Linked DNA regions of Homo sapiens: regions 1, 3, 4 and 5 are each linked to region 2. Evidence: promoter capture Hi-C in human tissues and cell types (Jung and others, 2019). All regions are on one chromosome and are shown on one strand. The core of a region is centred on a gene start or on the middle of the fragment in contact, and the rest is flanking DNA. Distances in the headings are between cores, read along the strand shown. Region 1 overlaps NKAIN2 (sodium/potassium transporting ATPase interacting 2). Region 2 holds the start of NKAIN2 (sodium/potassium transporting ATPase interacting 2). Region 3 overlaps NKAIN2 (sodium/potassium transporting ATPase interacting 2). Region 4 overlaps NKAIN2 (sodium/potassium transporting ATPase interacting 2). Region 5 overlaps NKAIN2 (sodium/potassium transporting ATPase interacting 2).

What was found. The method cuts DNA at HindIII sites, captures the fragments that hold promoters and counts their contacts. A contact is called where the count stands out against the background at its distance.
Region 1: a contact is called between a fragment that was not itself captured here and the fragment with the promoter of NKAIN2 in region 2, in 3 of the 25 tissues and cell types used here (dorsolateral prefrontal cortex, hippocampus and mesenchymal stem cells).
Region 3: a contact is called between a fragment that was not itself captured here and the fragment with the promoter of NKAIN2 in region 2, in 1 of the 25 tissues and cell types used here (dorsolateral prefrontal cortex).
Region 4: a contact is called between a fragment that was not itself captured here and the fragment with the promoter of NKAIN2 in region 2, in 2 of the 25 tissues and cell types used here (dorsolateral prefrontal cortex and mesenchymal stem cells).
Region 5: a contact is called between a fragment that was not itself captured here and the fragment with the promoter of NKAIN2 in region 2, in 1 of the 25 tissues and cell types used here (spleen).

The regions. Positions count from the first base shown.
Region 1 is chr6:124,559,020-124,561,719 of GRCh38, reverse strand. All of the region lies in intron 3 of NKAIN2 (sodium/potassium transporting ATPase interacting 2), which reads right to left. Among named protein-coding and RNA genes, the nearest start is that of RNF217, 400 kb to the left of the region's middle. The HindIII fragment of the contact is 6,104 bases long and covers 1-2,700 here.
Region 2 is chr6:123,802,446-123,805,145 of GRCh38, reverse strand. It overlaps NKAIN2 (sodium/potassium transporting ATPase interacting 2), which reads right to left and starts at 1,281. Exons shown (of 7, transcript NM_001040214.3): 1 at 892-1,281. The coding sequence starts at 945. RefSeq lists an enhancer at 2,476-2,525. The HindIII fragment of the contact is 12,261 bases long and covers 1-2,700 here.
Region 3 is chr6:124,507,073-124,509,772 of GRCh38, reverse strand. All of the region lies in intron 3 of NKAIN2 (sodium/potassium transporting ATPase interacting 2), which reads right to left. Among named protein-coding and RNA genes, the nearest start is that of RNF217, 450 kb to the left of the region's middle. The HindIII fragment of the contact is 3,829 bases long and covers 1-2,700 here.
Region 4 is chr6:124,576,411-124,579,110 of GRCh38, reverse strand. The region is part of intron 3 of NKAIN2 (sodium/potassium transporting ATPase interacting 2); the gene reads right to left. Among named protein-coding and RNA genes, the nearest start is that of RNF217, 380 kb to the left of the region's middle. The HindIII fragment of the contact is 6,037 bases long and covers 1-2,700 here.
Region 5 is chr6:124,395,008-124,397,707 of GRCh38, reverse strand. All of the region lies in intron 3 of NKAIN2 (sodium/potassium transporting ATPase interacting 2), which reads right to left. Among named protein-coding and RNA genes, the nearest start is that of RNF217, 570 kb to the left of the region's middle. The HindIII fragment of the contact is 7,615 bases long and covers 1-2,700 here.

The DNA of each region.
Region 1 (2,700 bases), core at 24-2,523, 760 kb before region 2:
AAAGTAATGCAATGGAATTATGCAAAGACTGTCTCCCATCCACCCCAGCTTGGAAGGTGAATCTGCTACTCTTCTTTTTCCAGTTATAGATGAAAAAAAAGAAGAAGAAGAAAAGGAAAGAAAACAATACATCTTAAGCACTGCGATCTTCCTCTCATTAAGTCTTGTTATATGAAGAATTGAGGTGGTGGGTTGGGGAGGGAGAAAGCTAAGCAACTAAAACAAATTTAATGTTTTTAAAATATTTTTTCCCACAGACCAGATTGCAATTTACAATCTTGCCATTCCATCAAATGCTATGACACTTCACAATGCTGCCTAAATGCAAAATTGGCCAGGTTTAACATAATAGCTGGCTGCATAAAACACGAGATTGCAAATGTCATGGGAAAGAGATGATGAATGGCTGTGGGATATTTATATACACTGTATAGATATGTTGACGAAACTGCTTGAAGGAAATGTGTTAAAACTGATTATTTTAGCTACAGATTTGGATGAAATGTGGCTTTTTGTATTGTAGGCATCTGGGATCCTAAGGTCTCCTACAGTGGCATCACTTCTCCTGCTTCGGACTTTTCCCCTCAGTAATCATTCTGTTTACATCACTGTTGCTCTGTGCCCTGAAACAAGACAGTGACTCACATCAGGGCTGATGAGGGCACTGCTGAGGACTTGGCCTCTTTTCCTAGGTGACCTGCCCAGAAATTCCTGCTTTTCTATCACCTCTGGGTCTAGAAGATTGCTGGGCTTCACTAGAATGTCTGGTGCCTTAATCATCTGCCTACCTCTGCAGCATCTTCCAGGAAGCAAAGTCACATTTAGGAGGTGAAAGTTTTCAAATGATCTGGGCACTATAGTAATGATAAACTCACTCTTGGTCATTTTTCAGGTTTTGATTTAAACAAAAAATAATATTTAAAGTAGATTATTTCAACTTTTCCTCTGAGATATAATGTGGTAAGCAACAAAACTCGCTAAGAAGGTGAATTTTTTCACATAGAATCTTAGGATTATGATAATAATTGCTCATCTTTATATCATGCTTACTATGTGCCAGGCACTGTTCTCATTTAATTCTTATAGTATACATACAGGGTAGCCTCATCGTTGTATTCATTTGAAAGATGAAGAAAGTGAGAAACAGAAAAGTTAAATAACTTTACTAGGGCTACATAGGTAATAAGTAGAAGATCCAAGATTCAAACCCAGAATGGCAAAGATTACATGCTTTTAATTATGATGCTTGTATTAGTTCGTTCTTGCACTGCAAAACAAAGACATACCTGAGGCTGTGTAATTTATAAAGGAAAGAGTTTTAATTGACTCACAGTTCAGCATGGCTGGGGAGGCCTCAGGAAACTTACAATCATGGCAGAAGGGGAAGCAAACAGTCCTTCTTCACATGGTGGCAGAAAGGAGAAGTGCCAAGCAAAAGGGGAAAAGTCCCTTATAAAACCATCAAATCTCAAGAGAACTGACTCACTATCATGAGAGAAGCATGGAGGTAACTGCCCCCATGATTTAATTACCTCCCACCTGGTTCCTCCATGAGATGTGTGAATTATGGGAACTACAAGTCAAAATGAGATTTGGGTGGGGACACAGCCAAGCCATATCAATGCTATATATTTCCTTGTCGATAAATAATACAAACCTCAAAAACATAATGCCACATTTTAATACCATATACAGGAACTAATCTCATATTTTGACCTAAAGGTGCTTTGACTGGGTGTTAACGTTGTGCTGGCGAATGTGAGATAACATAAGCCGAAGTGTGGGCAGATGCATCAGTCAGAATAGTCTAGGTTATCTTGTGGAAGTGAACCATCTCATGATCTTGATGGCTTAAAGCAAAAAAAAAAAAAAAAAAAAAAAAAAATGGTTTATTTCTTACTCGCCTTCCACATCTATCATTGCCTAGCTGAGGGGGCTCTGCTCCACTTTCTGTAGTCCTCAGACCAGAACCCAGGATGACCCAGGACGTGGCATCCCCTCTATGTGGCATGATAGAAGGAGGAAAAAATGTGACAGAGCATTAGCCAGTTATTAAAAGTTCTGCCTAGAGATGATATATATCATTTCTCTTACATTCTGTTAGCCAAAGAGAATCACATTGCCCAACTTAACTCTGAGGTGGCATGAAAGTACAATTCATCTCCTTGTCTAGAATGAAGGGAAAGTTGGGATATATAGAAGCAGTCCTCAGGACTATCCCAGCAGGGTCAGCCATAATGTTGAGAAGTGCGTAGTTGAGACGGTAAGGAATCGTCTATCGCTGAAGGCTAGGAACATTGATCCATGACAAATGAGTCACTTAGCCTCAGCTCGTCACTTCTTTGAGACAACTTGTATGTCCACTCAAAACTCAGCTAAAAGCCCTGCTACACACTCTCAAAACCCCTGAGTCTCCATTCCTCTCACTTATTATATTGGCCATTATCTATTCTATTCTGCACAGGATTTTATATATTATCCATGAAGGCAGAGAATAAACGTGTATTGGTTTATTCTTTGACACTGCTGTATTCAACCATCCTCCACCCCACCTTGCTACTTCAAGATTCATATCAGTCCAATAAATATTTATTAAGGCAGAAAATATGTATTAGAATACGAGGAGTAAACAGGAAAACGAATCTATACCTGGTATACACTGGCTTTCTGAGCCAGTTTCCATTAGGTACCTTAAATGAT
Region 2 (2,700 bases), core at 32-2,531:
TTAGAGTGGTGTATTTTTCACCTCTCAACTCTCTACTCAGACCCTCCTTCCATTGCCCTTAGGGAATTGAAATTCAGAGACATGACGTTTTCCATTATTGGTTCCTTGCCCCTTTGCAACTGTACAACATTCCTCAAAAAGTACATAGAATTCTCCATCCTATAGGATCAGACAACAGTATCTATTTCAGGAGCAATAATATGCATAATGTAAGACAGAATAGTTTTTCTTGGAATTGTCTGTGTTAATTGTGATTTAAAGGTTACTGGTTCCGTCTATGACAATGGTGTTGCTGAGTTCACCTAAGTATTTTTGTTCAATCTGCATACTTTAAAAACTCAATGTGGCTAAAACTCAAACAGTCTAAATTAGACTGTTGTAAGGATACCATGTGCCCTAAACAGTGGTTTTTTTAGAGCATTATACTTAAAGACAACATTTTCCTTAAAAAAAGAAAAAAAACATGTCTATGAAGAAACAAAGATACTGCAAAATTAGTATAGAGAAGAAAAGTCCAAAATTCCGTATTCCTCTGTTTAACAACCTGTACGGTAAATTGTAGGTGACAATCACGTTGTTACATGAATAGGAATGCAAAGCATAAAGAACAAGAGCTACATCTTGCTTTTCCTAAAGAAATTAAAGACAAGTTTAACCCGCACCTGCCAAACTGTCTTAAAAGGGACAGAAATAGGTGGGAACGGAAAGGCTCACCTCTCCTGTACCCCAGAGTGCGTCTCCCTGAAATCATCTTCAATATAGGCAATATATCTGTCACCTTCTCTTTTATCTTTTTCGTCCATTCTAGTCAATGGCAGACCCTTTGCTGCACTCCCCTGCCCACTATCTCAAAGACACATTACAGAATAAGGGGACCCAAGTGTCACTTACCAGTTGCATGCCACAGATAAAGATAAGCGTGCACCTGCCACTGCAATAACCCATGGTTTCCGAGACCCCTGCCACAGCCAGACTGTCCCACGTCGGCCACCGTCGAGCCCCCACTTTATCCAATCAGATCGCGGGGAAGGACACGCAAACCTGCCGAGGGCTCGGGGGCTCCGGGCTGCTGCTGCTGCCAGCGTCCTGGGAAGTGACAGGCATTAGGACCTGCTGGCGCGGCGGCGGCGGCGGCGGCAGCTCCAGCCGCGCCCGCCACACATACCTTCACTCGCTCGGTGCACACGCCGCGCCGCGGGCAGTGCCGCCTGCGGAGGCGCGCTCGGGGCCCGCAGGGGCAGCAGCGGCAGCCTGGCAGCGCCGCCGCGCCCTCGGGCATCTGGCCCGCGAAGTTTCGCCCCTGCCGCTCTCCGCGCCGCTCGCCTCACGCCCCCCAGCGCGGCCGCCGCCCGACGCGCGCTCGCCCTGCGCTCGCCGCGCGCCGGCTCCGGGGGCGGCAGAAGCGCGCGAGGGCCGCTGCCCGCCTCCCTGCGCAGCCCGCGGCTCCTAGGCACCCTGCGTTGCTGGGCCCGGCGGGCGGGGGTGGGGCGGGGAGCGGGGCGCGGGCCGAGCGGGGGCGTCCCGGCTCCGCGGTCCCCGGCGGCTGCTGCAGCGGCTGCTGCGCGCAATGATGCGGGTCCGCGCCGCGTCCCAGCAGCGGCGCTGCCCCTCCCTTCGCCCAGATGTGTGAATCCTCCTCCTACAACAAATCCTTCATCCTGCTCCCTGCCGCCCCCTCCCAGGGGGCCAACTTTGAGGACCGCAGGGGCTGCCGCCCAGGCGGCCGCAGGCGGCGGTGTCTAGGCGGAAAGGAGCGGCGCGAAAGCGGCGGCGGCGGGGACCGGGGCCTCGGGGCGAGGAGTCTGGGCGGCATGACCGCGGTTTGCTGAGCTGAAGTCGGTCGTGCTCCCAGAGCCACTCCGCGGGAGCGAACCGAGTGTGTGTGTGCGCGCGCGCTCGGGGGAGAAGGGACCAAGAGGAGGGTTAGGGAAGGAAGCTGGGGTCATGGAACAGGGGTGCAACCGAGGCATCCAGAGCGGCCGGAAAGCCCGAGTGGCGGAGAGGCCAGAGGTGGCGAGAAGGGGCGCGGCGGCACCGGACGCACCGCCCAGCACCTGGCTCCCCTGGGCTCCCGAGGATCTGAAGGGTCGGAGCGCGGAGAGCTACGGAGCCGACCCTGCTTGGGGAAGGGGACCGAGTTGCTGCTGGAGTTGGGAAAAATTAGCAACCGGAGGGAATAGGGATGCAATGAGTTGCTGTTGCTGCTTCAAACTGTTGTTTGTTTTCACTTAAAATACTAAAGAGTCGGAGACTAGTTTAATACTCAGTTACTTCAGCTTCACAGCAGTCCCAGCTGGGTGTGGATTCCTAGTGGAGATGCACCAGCCTCCGCTGAGCACCGGCCTGAAAGCTGTGAAGCGGCTGCTACCTGCAGAGACAGGCTTCGGAGCCCGCTGCTGCCACCTGCGGGCGGAAAGCTGAAGGGCGCAACATGCTGGCCCAAGTGGCTGCCCCTGGGGCGTGGATATTTAGGACCAAGTTTCCTTTTTAGCCCTGGCAGCTAAGGAAAGCAATCCTAACTTTTCCAGGAAGTGAAGATTATTTGTTGAGATCCACTGAGGAACTGACTCATTGGGGTGAAGTGTCGCGATTGATAAGAGGATGGTTTAGGGAGCTAAATAGCAAACAGCTCCCTAGCACCCTTCTTAAGAGATTAAGATGACGAAGCCACATCAAGCAGAGAGCTCTCTGTAGCAACTG
Region 3 (2,700 bases), core at 185-2,684, 700 kb before region 2:
AAACCAAGAAAAGTGAGGGTCAACTTAGAAGGTACTAGCCAAACCACCTGGTTCTGCATCTTGCTCATTTTAAGGATGACGTGAGAAAATTAATTACTTTAATCAAACACCTTGGCTTCTTGCTCACAAATTACTGGGTGGGTATTTGCATAAATGCAGCAATTTCCTGAGTGAGTGGCAGATGGTCAGACAAGTCATGAGCTCACCAAACACTTTTTGTTCACAGATGCAAGTGTTGTGGTAGAACGAAATAAAGACGTCTAACTAGCAAGATAAACTGCAGGAAAAATAATTTACATTAGCCCAACGATGACCTATAATAAGGCAGTCTATTACTAATACTGATAGAAGAACAAAACCGAGTATATATGCAGCAAAGTCATGGGTAAAGTGTACTACTCATTCATGTAGCTGGCATTGTCTTCTTTCGGTTCTCTAGGATCATAAACTTTGCAGAGTTAATTATGAATTCTTTCCTTCATCCACCCTTTCTAAGTCCTATTGATAATGGCATAGTCTCTTGAATCTTAATCATCAGATAAAATTGTCTCAAAGCTGATTGCCCAGTGAAAGATAACTTCCTCTAAACTGAATGTGCACTTATTACTTGTTGGGAAGGCAGCGATTGGAATTCCATCCCACACTACTTCTACAGTGTTATTTACTCACCCCTTGACTTAAAGATAACTGTTATGAATTGAGTTGTGTTTCCTAAAAAGATATATCGAAGTCCTAAGCCGCAGGGCATCATAATGTAACCTTATTTATAGGTAGGATAATTTCAGTTGTAATTAATTAAAATGAGGTCATACTGGAACAGGACGGACCCTTAATCCAATATGACTGGTGTCCTTTTAAAACAAGGAGAAAGCACACAGAGAGAAGAATGCTATATGATGAGATAGATGCACAGAGAGAAGATGGTCATGTGATGATGAAGGCAGAGCTTCCTTTACAGCTGCAAACCAAAATCGAAGATTGTCTGCAACAACCAGAAGCCAGGAGCAGGAATACGGCTCTTCCAACACCTTGATTTCACTGCTAGCCTCCAGAACTGCATAATAATAATTTTTGGTTGTTTAAGCTTGTGGTACTTTGTTACAGCAGCCTAAAGACTAATACAAGCTCATGGCCAGGCGTGGTGGCTCATACCTGTAATCCCAGCACTTTGGGAGGCCGAGGCGGGCAGATCACGAGGTCAAGAGATCGAGACCATTCTGGCTAACACGGTGAAACCCCATCTCTACTAAAAATACAAAAAAAAATTAGCCGGGCATGGTGGCGCCTGTAGTCCCAGCTACTAGGGAGGCTGAGGCAGGAGAATGGCGTGAACCCGGGAGGCGGAGCTTGCAGCGAGCCGAGATCAAGCCACTGCACTCCAGCCTGGGTGACAGAGCGAGACTCCATCTCAAAAAAGAAAAGAAAAGAAAAAAAAAAGACTAATACAAGCTCATTTCATTTTCTCTGACTAATTGAGTGGGTTTTTTGTTTTTTGTTTTTTGGTTTTTATTTTTTTGAGGCCGGATCTTACTCTGTCACTCAGGCTAGAGTGCAGTGGCATGATCACTGCTCACTACAGCCTTAACCTCCCAAGCTCAAGTGATCTTCCCACCTTAGCCTCTCTAGTAGCTAGGACTACAGGTGTGTGCCATCGTGCCCAGCTTTTTTTTTTTTTTTCTTTTGGTACAGATGGGGTCTCACCATATTGCCCAGGCTGGTCTCAAACTCCTGGACTCAAGTGATCCTTCTGCCTTGGCCTGCCAAAATGTAGGGATTACAGGCGTAAGCTATTGTGCCTGGCCTAATTGGGTGTTTTTACCTGTTTGTTAGTATGTGTTCTAAACTTAAATTCTTGAGTCTGTTTCCTAAACATAAATTATCACTTATATTGTAGTCTTTAAGAGTGGAGCCCTTGAATTCTATTTCTTTACTTTTTCTCATTTCTAATGTCTTTCTATTATGTCCCCGGGTTTGGTACCATGCTGAATGCAGGGACTCAACAGTTCTTGCTGTCCCACTGAACCTCATATCATAAATATTGTAAAGATAAATCAGCACATAACAGAATGGCAGAAAAATGTAGTATTTTGAGTATTAGGATTAAGTGTCCTCTTTTATTATTACATGTCTATTAAAAAGTCATGTGTAAAGCTGCCCCTCCTGTACATCTATATTATGAAAACATACACAAAATGCTGCAGGGATTTATATCATAGTTGTGATAGAGAGAAATGTTTAGATGCAATTAAAGATGGATACGCTGACTACCAAAAGCATATATTTAAACCAAGCAAAAAACCACCATAATTAAAATATCATGGTCCTGATGTAAGAATAAAAATTTTCCCATACTGATGGGAAAAATATGAAGTTCTAAAGCTCTGTAATAGAAATATAGGATAAGGTAGCATTTCAATTCAATATAGAAACGAAGCTTTAGTCATTTACTTGTTCTGAGAAAACTGCTTCCTTGTTAGGAAGCCTAGATCTTTATCTCACACATCACATAGACTACAAATGCAAATTTCACAACTCAAAGAATAATATGCCCCACATTTTCAAGGGTGCAGTGAAACAAACCCTCGCGTACTTTGCTGGTACAAATAAAAGTCAGTAAAACCTTCCCAAAGTGAAATTTGGTAATCTGTGCAAAAAACTTTAAAAATGCTTATCCTTTCTTCTTTGTTATTATAAATTTGG
Region 4 (2,700 bases), core at 157-2,656, 770 kb before region 2:
GTATTCATAGGGATTTGGGTGTTGTAATCTAAGTTTTTGATCACTGCAGCCATATTTGCATTAGGGAGTACCCCAAGCTCAATAATGCTGTGGCTTGCGCAAACTCATAGAGATGCTGCCCTGATGGTCTTAGTTAAGATCTAGAATAATTCTCTAGAATACCAGGCACAGACTCTTATTCTCTTCCCTTATTTTCTCCTAAACAAAGAGTCTCTCTCTCTCCACCCTGCTATCTCTCTTTCTGTCTCTTTCTGCGCTGAGCTGCCTGGAGCTGGGGGAGGGGTGACAAAAGCACCCTCTGGCCACCACCACTGGGACTGTGCTGGGTCAGACCTGAAGCCAGCACAGCACTGAGTCTCACCCAAGGCCTGCCTGGCTACCACTTACGTTCACTCAAGGCCCTAGGGTTCTATAATTAGCAGGTGGCAAAACTAGCCATGCCGTTTTCTTCCCTTCAGGGTGATGAGTTGCCCCTGGCCCCAGTAGGTTCAGAGATGCCATACAGGAGCAGGGCCCAGAGTTGAAACCCTTAGAAATCTACCTGTTGCTCTATTCTACTGAGGCTGAACTGGCATCCAAGCCACAAGATGAAGTCCTTCCCACTCTTTCCTCTCTTTTCCACAAGCAGAGGAGTCTCTCTCTGTGGCTGGCATAGATCCAGGCCCATAGCAAGTACTGCCTGGCTACTGCCAATGTTCACTCAAGGCCCAAGGGCTCTTTAGTCAGCTTGTGCTGAATGCTACCAGGTCTGAGACTCTCCCTTCAGGACAGTAGGATGCTCTCTGACCCAGAGCAGAGCAGGTCCAGAAATTCTTTCCAAGAGCTAAGGCCTAGAATCAGGGACCCCAAGATCCTGCTTGGTACTCTACCTAACTGTGACAGAGCTGGTAAGGAAGCTGCAAGACAAAGTCTCCTTCACTCTTCCCTCCCCTTTTCTCAAGCAGAAGGTTGCTCTCCCTGTAGCCACTATGGCTTGGAATATGCTAGGTCATGCTTGAAGCCAGCTTGTCTCTGAGTCTTACCCAAGGCCCATGGTGAGTACTTCCTGGCTACCACTGTTGACTATTCAGGGCCCAAGGGCTCTTTAATCAGCAGCTGATGAATCCTGCCAGGACTAAGTACTTTACTTCAAGATAGCAGGTTCCCTTCTGGCCTAGTACATGTCTAGAAATGTTGTCTAGAAGGTACGGCCTGGAATGCGGGCCTCAGGATTCTGCCTGGTGCTCTGTCCTACTGTGGCTGAGGTGGTATCTAAGTTGCAAGATAAAGTCCTCTTTACTTTTCCTTGTCCTCTCCTCAAGGAGAGGGAAAGAGTCTCTCCTAGAGCTGTGAGCTGCACTGCCTGAGGTGGTGGGAGGGGTGGTGCAAGTACTCCCTTGGCTGCCCCAGCTATTATCTCATTAGGTTGCATACCCCTAAATCCACTGGCTGTGAGCGAAGCACAGCACCAGAACTTGCCCAGGAATTGCAGTCCTTGTGGCCTACACTGCCTTTCAAGTTTATTTAGAATCCAAGAGCACTTTAGCTTGCATTGGTGAGGCTTACCAGAATTCAGGTTCTGACGTCTGGGAAGGGCAATTTCTTTCTGGTGAGGGCTGGTCTAAATGCTTCCTCTGTGAGTGCTGGCTGAGTTCTGGCCAGGGTTGTTTTCCACTGTGACAGGGCAGCACCAAGTTCTAATGGAAAATCTCACAATCACTGTGCCTTCTGTCCCCCAAGCACACAGATTCTTGCTCCACACTATGCAGCTGCTGCTGGGGGGTGCAGGAGGGGTGGTGACAGCAATTCAAGACTGTCTTTCCTTTCCTCTTCCTTGCCTTTTTCAGTAATATGAGCATAAAACCAGGTACAGTGATCACTCACCTGATTTTGGTTCTTATGAAGGTAATTTTTGTGTGTGGATAGTTGTTCAATTTGGTGTTCCTGCAGGGAGGATGACTGGTGAAGGCTTCTATTCAGCCATCTTGCTCCATCTCCTTTCTTGCTCATTTTTTAACTGAATATTTTTCCTTTGAGTTTTGAAAATACTTGATATAGTCTGATGGTAAGCCCATTATCAGGTATATAATTTGAAAATATTTATCTTTCATTTCCTTACCCATGTTTCAAAAAAGCAGAGGTTTCAGTTCTTACAAATCCCAATGTATCATTTTAACAAACGGATTGTGCTTTTGGTGTCTTATTTAAGAGGTCTTTGCCTAACCAGAGTCATGAAGTTTTCTTCTCTGTTTTGTTCTAGCAGTTTTATAGCTTTGGGTTTACATTTAGGTCTATGATTCATTTTAACTTAATTTTTGTATACAGTTTGAGGTATGGATCTTTTTTGACACTATACAAAAGTCTACAAGTGCGTTTCTTAAAGAGTATTTGGAACGTGCCAATATTTACAACCCTATCAGTGAACTTTTCATTGTTTTTTTTTACATTGAAATTTATTGGTCTATCTGGCATAATTGTTTTGCCAAGGCATGATATTTTGAAATTATGTATTACTCATTTGGAAAATATTGGTTCACTGAGCTGTGCAGATTTTCCAAATGTTAACACGCTGCCCCACTACTTTATAAAATATAAAACGATTCTTAATAGTGCTAAGAATCACATAAAATATCTTCATATATTTGTAAGCTGTCCAGCCCAGTGTGGTTCGCATGACTTTTCCAAAATTCTAACTTTTGCTTAGAAGTTCAAGTGTGACCA
Region 5 (2,700 bases), core at 73-2,572, 590 kb before region 2:
GATAAGGACAAATTTCCATGAGAAAACAATTTCAAATGTATACAATTTAAACAGTTTTTTTTTAAATTCTTTTTTTTCCACATTTCAACGCCCACTCTAGTATTGCATAACATATTGGTTGAAATTGTTGGGTTCAAAATCTGGCTTAATGCAAACCTGGTTATAATTAAAAAAAAAAAACTCTCTGTGACACAGTATCTCAATCAATAAAGCAGGGACAATCATCTATTATTAAATGAGGTAAAACAGCCCAATGGTAGGTACACAGTGAATGTACACAATTGTTAGCTATTATTTGGAGTAATTATATTATCGTTGTTCTTAGACGTCATCATTATTGGTAAGCACTGAATATGTTTGAATTGAATTCTACCATAATGTGTTCTAGAAAAAAGTAAATAATTATCAGAAATTACTGAAAAATTATAATTACATTTATTTATATTATTTAAATTACAATGCAATTTATACAAACTGTTAATTTCTTTGAGCAAAATTTCAAAGCAGGAACACTACACTATAAATGTTAAAACCATCATTATAATTTTCTTTATTATGTGTATTTAGAGTTATATTTAGGGATATATTAAATAATTATATCAGAGATATGAATAAAAATCAAAGGCCCATATTTATTTTATCAGATCTATGGAAGTATCAACCACTACTGTTAATAAAACAGTTAACTGTTCCTTTTCCAGATAAAAAAGTAAAATCATTCTCTAATGCCTTTTTGTATTTTCACCACAACTTACAAAAATCATAAAGTTCTAATGTTCTGATGATAATTAATACTTCTCCATAAGAAAGACTAAATAATGCCTGTATTAAAGTTAAAAATAAATTTAAACAAATAGAATTCATCTTTTAAATGTAACCTTTCCATCACTGTGGGAAATGCCACTATCTTTGATGCATCAGAAGCAAGTTTTTGGTCATCTTTGATGCCTCATACACCTCCCACTCTCCCACACATAATTCTAATTCAACAATATCTGTAATAGTTATTTATTCCTTTCCATCTATACACATTCTTAATGATCTCTGGCCTGAATTGCTGAAACATACTCTCCATCAGCAACTCTGATTCTAGACCTTCTTCCCTTTAAGTAAGGCAGAATGACATGACTGAAATCACAGTTCTGACTCATCGTGTTTCATTAAAACTATTCCCCTTATGTATCTCTACTAGTCAGCCGATGCCCTTCATCAAATCTAGGTGACAGACTTTTTCCAAGCCTCATTGAATCTCTTTTTTTCTTTTCTTTTTTTTTTTTTTAATCAAATAGCAGGTCTTATTCATTATTCCTTTTGTGTTTTTTTGGTACCCATTTTATTGTATCAATTCCTCTCTCATTCCCAGCCACTCTCTTTGCTTGAAAAATTTATTCTTCACATCTTGGTATTATCTTTCCCCCTTTCATATTCTATTCTAATAGTAACAATTTATTATTAAATTATTAAATATTATTAAATCTTGCGATGCCCATGGCATCTTACCATGTATTGGGAGATACCCATTGTTTCATTTTGAGTGGTAGAGTGTTTTTAACCTCATCTGTTTAATAAGATAAAGTCCTAGAGAACAAACCAGTAGTGCCTTCTCCCTGGACTGAGGGCACCTGGAGATATGTATATATAAATGCAAAGTACCATGGAAGTTATACCAGATTATAAGCTCCTGAGGGCAGAGGTTTTGTATGTTTTGTTCACTGATGTAGCCCCAGAGCCTAGAGGCTTAGCACACAGTGGTCACTCAATAAGTATTTGTTGAACACAGTTAAAGAATAAATGAGCAAATATATCACCACAAGACTAAATGATACTTATTACTCCGAGACTCTGTATAGGACATATAACAATATTTTCAGCATGGAATGATACTAGATCTATTTTCCTATAAAGCAATTTCAGCAACTATTTATTCAAATGCTTCCACACTGGACATATCCATTGCCATTCTATTTATGAATGTAATCAAAGAAATAATCAAATGAAAAACATCACTGATGTTACTTTACCTAAAAGTGAAATGGGGATAATGATCTGAAGGGTTTAAGAGAGGAATTTAATATTACATTCCTCTAACTCACATGCTAAGTTTCAGTTGTGACTGAGATGTTTACCTTTCCAAGTCAGCTGGTATTAGAGACATCCATGAGTATCTCAATTTTATTAACCATTTCTTTTATCTCTTTTGGAAAACTAGAATGCAACATTATGTGTTTACCACTGAATGAGATTAATTTATGGGTTTTAATGTTGTTAGTAACTTGTTATAAGTGTATCTATGATATCCACTTATAACCATAAATAAAGAATACACTATTTGGTAAATGAAATAACAGGAATAATTTTCAGTATAAAAGGTAAAAATGCAAAATTCAAAATATGACAGATGGAAGAATTTCATAGAAGATTTCTCTCTGGAATCACCTATGACTTGGATGGAGTTTGGATGTTCATCCTGTGGGAATAGGACAGTGTTGGCAAGCATATTGAGAACATCAGGAAAAAGGGGGTACCTTCAAATTTGAAGTATTAAAATATTCATGAGAAGATTTATTTCAATTACTTTGTACCTATTTTATGTTTAATTTTGTCTATTTTTAATTATATACAGAGGAGGTATTATAAATCATCTTCAATGTTAACTCACTTACAGGTCTTATTCTGGCTCTCTGGAAAGAGATTAGAGAG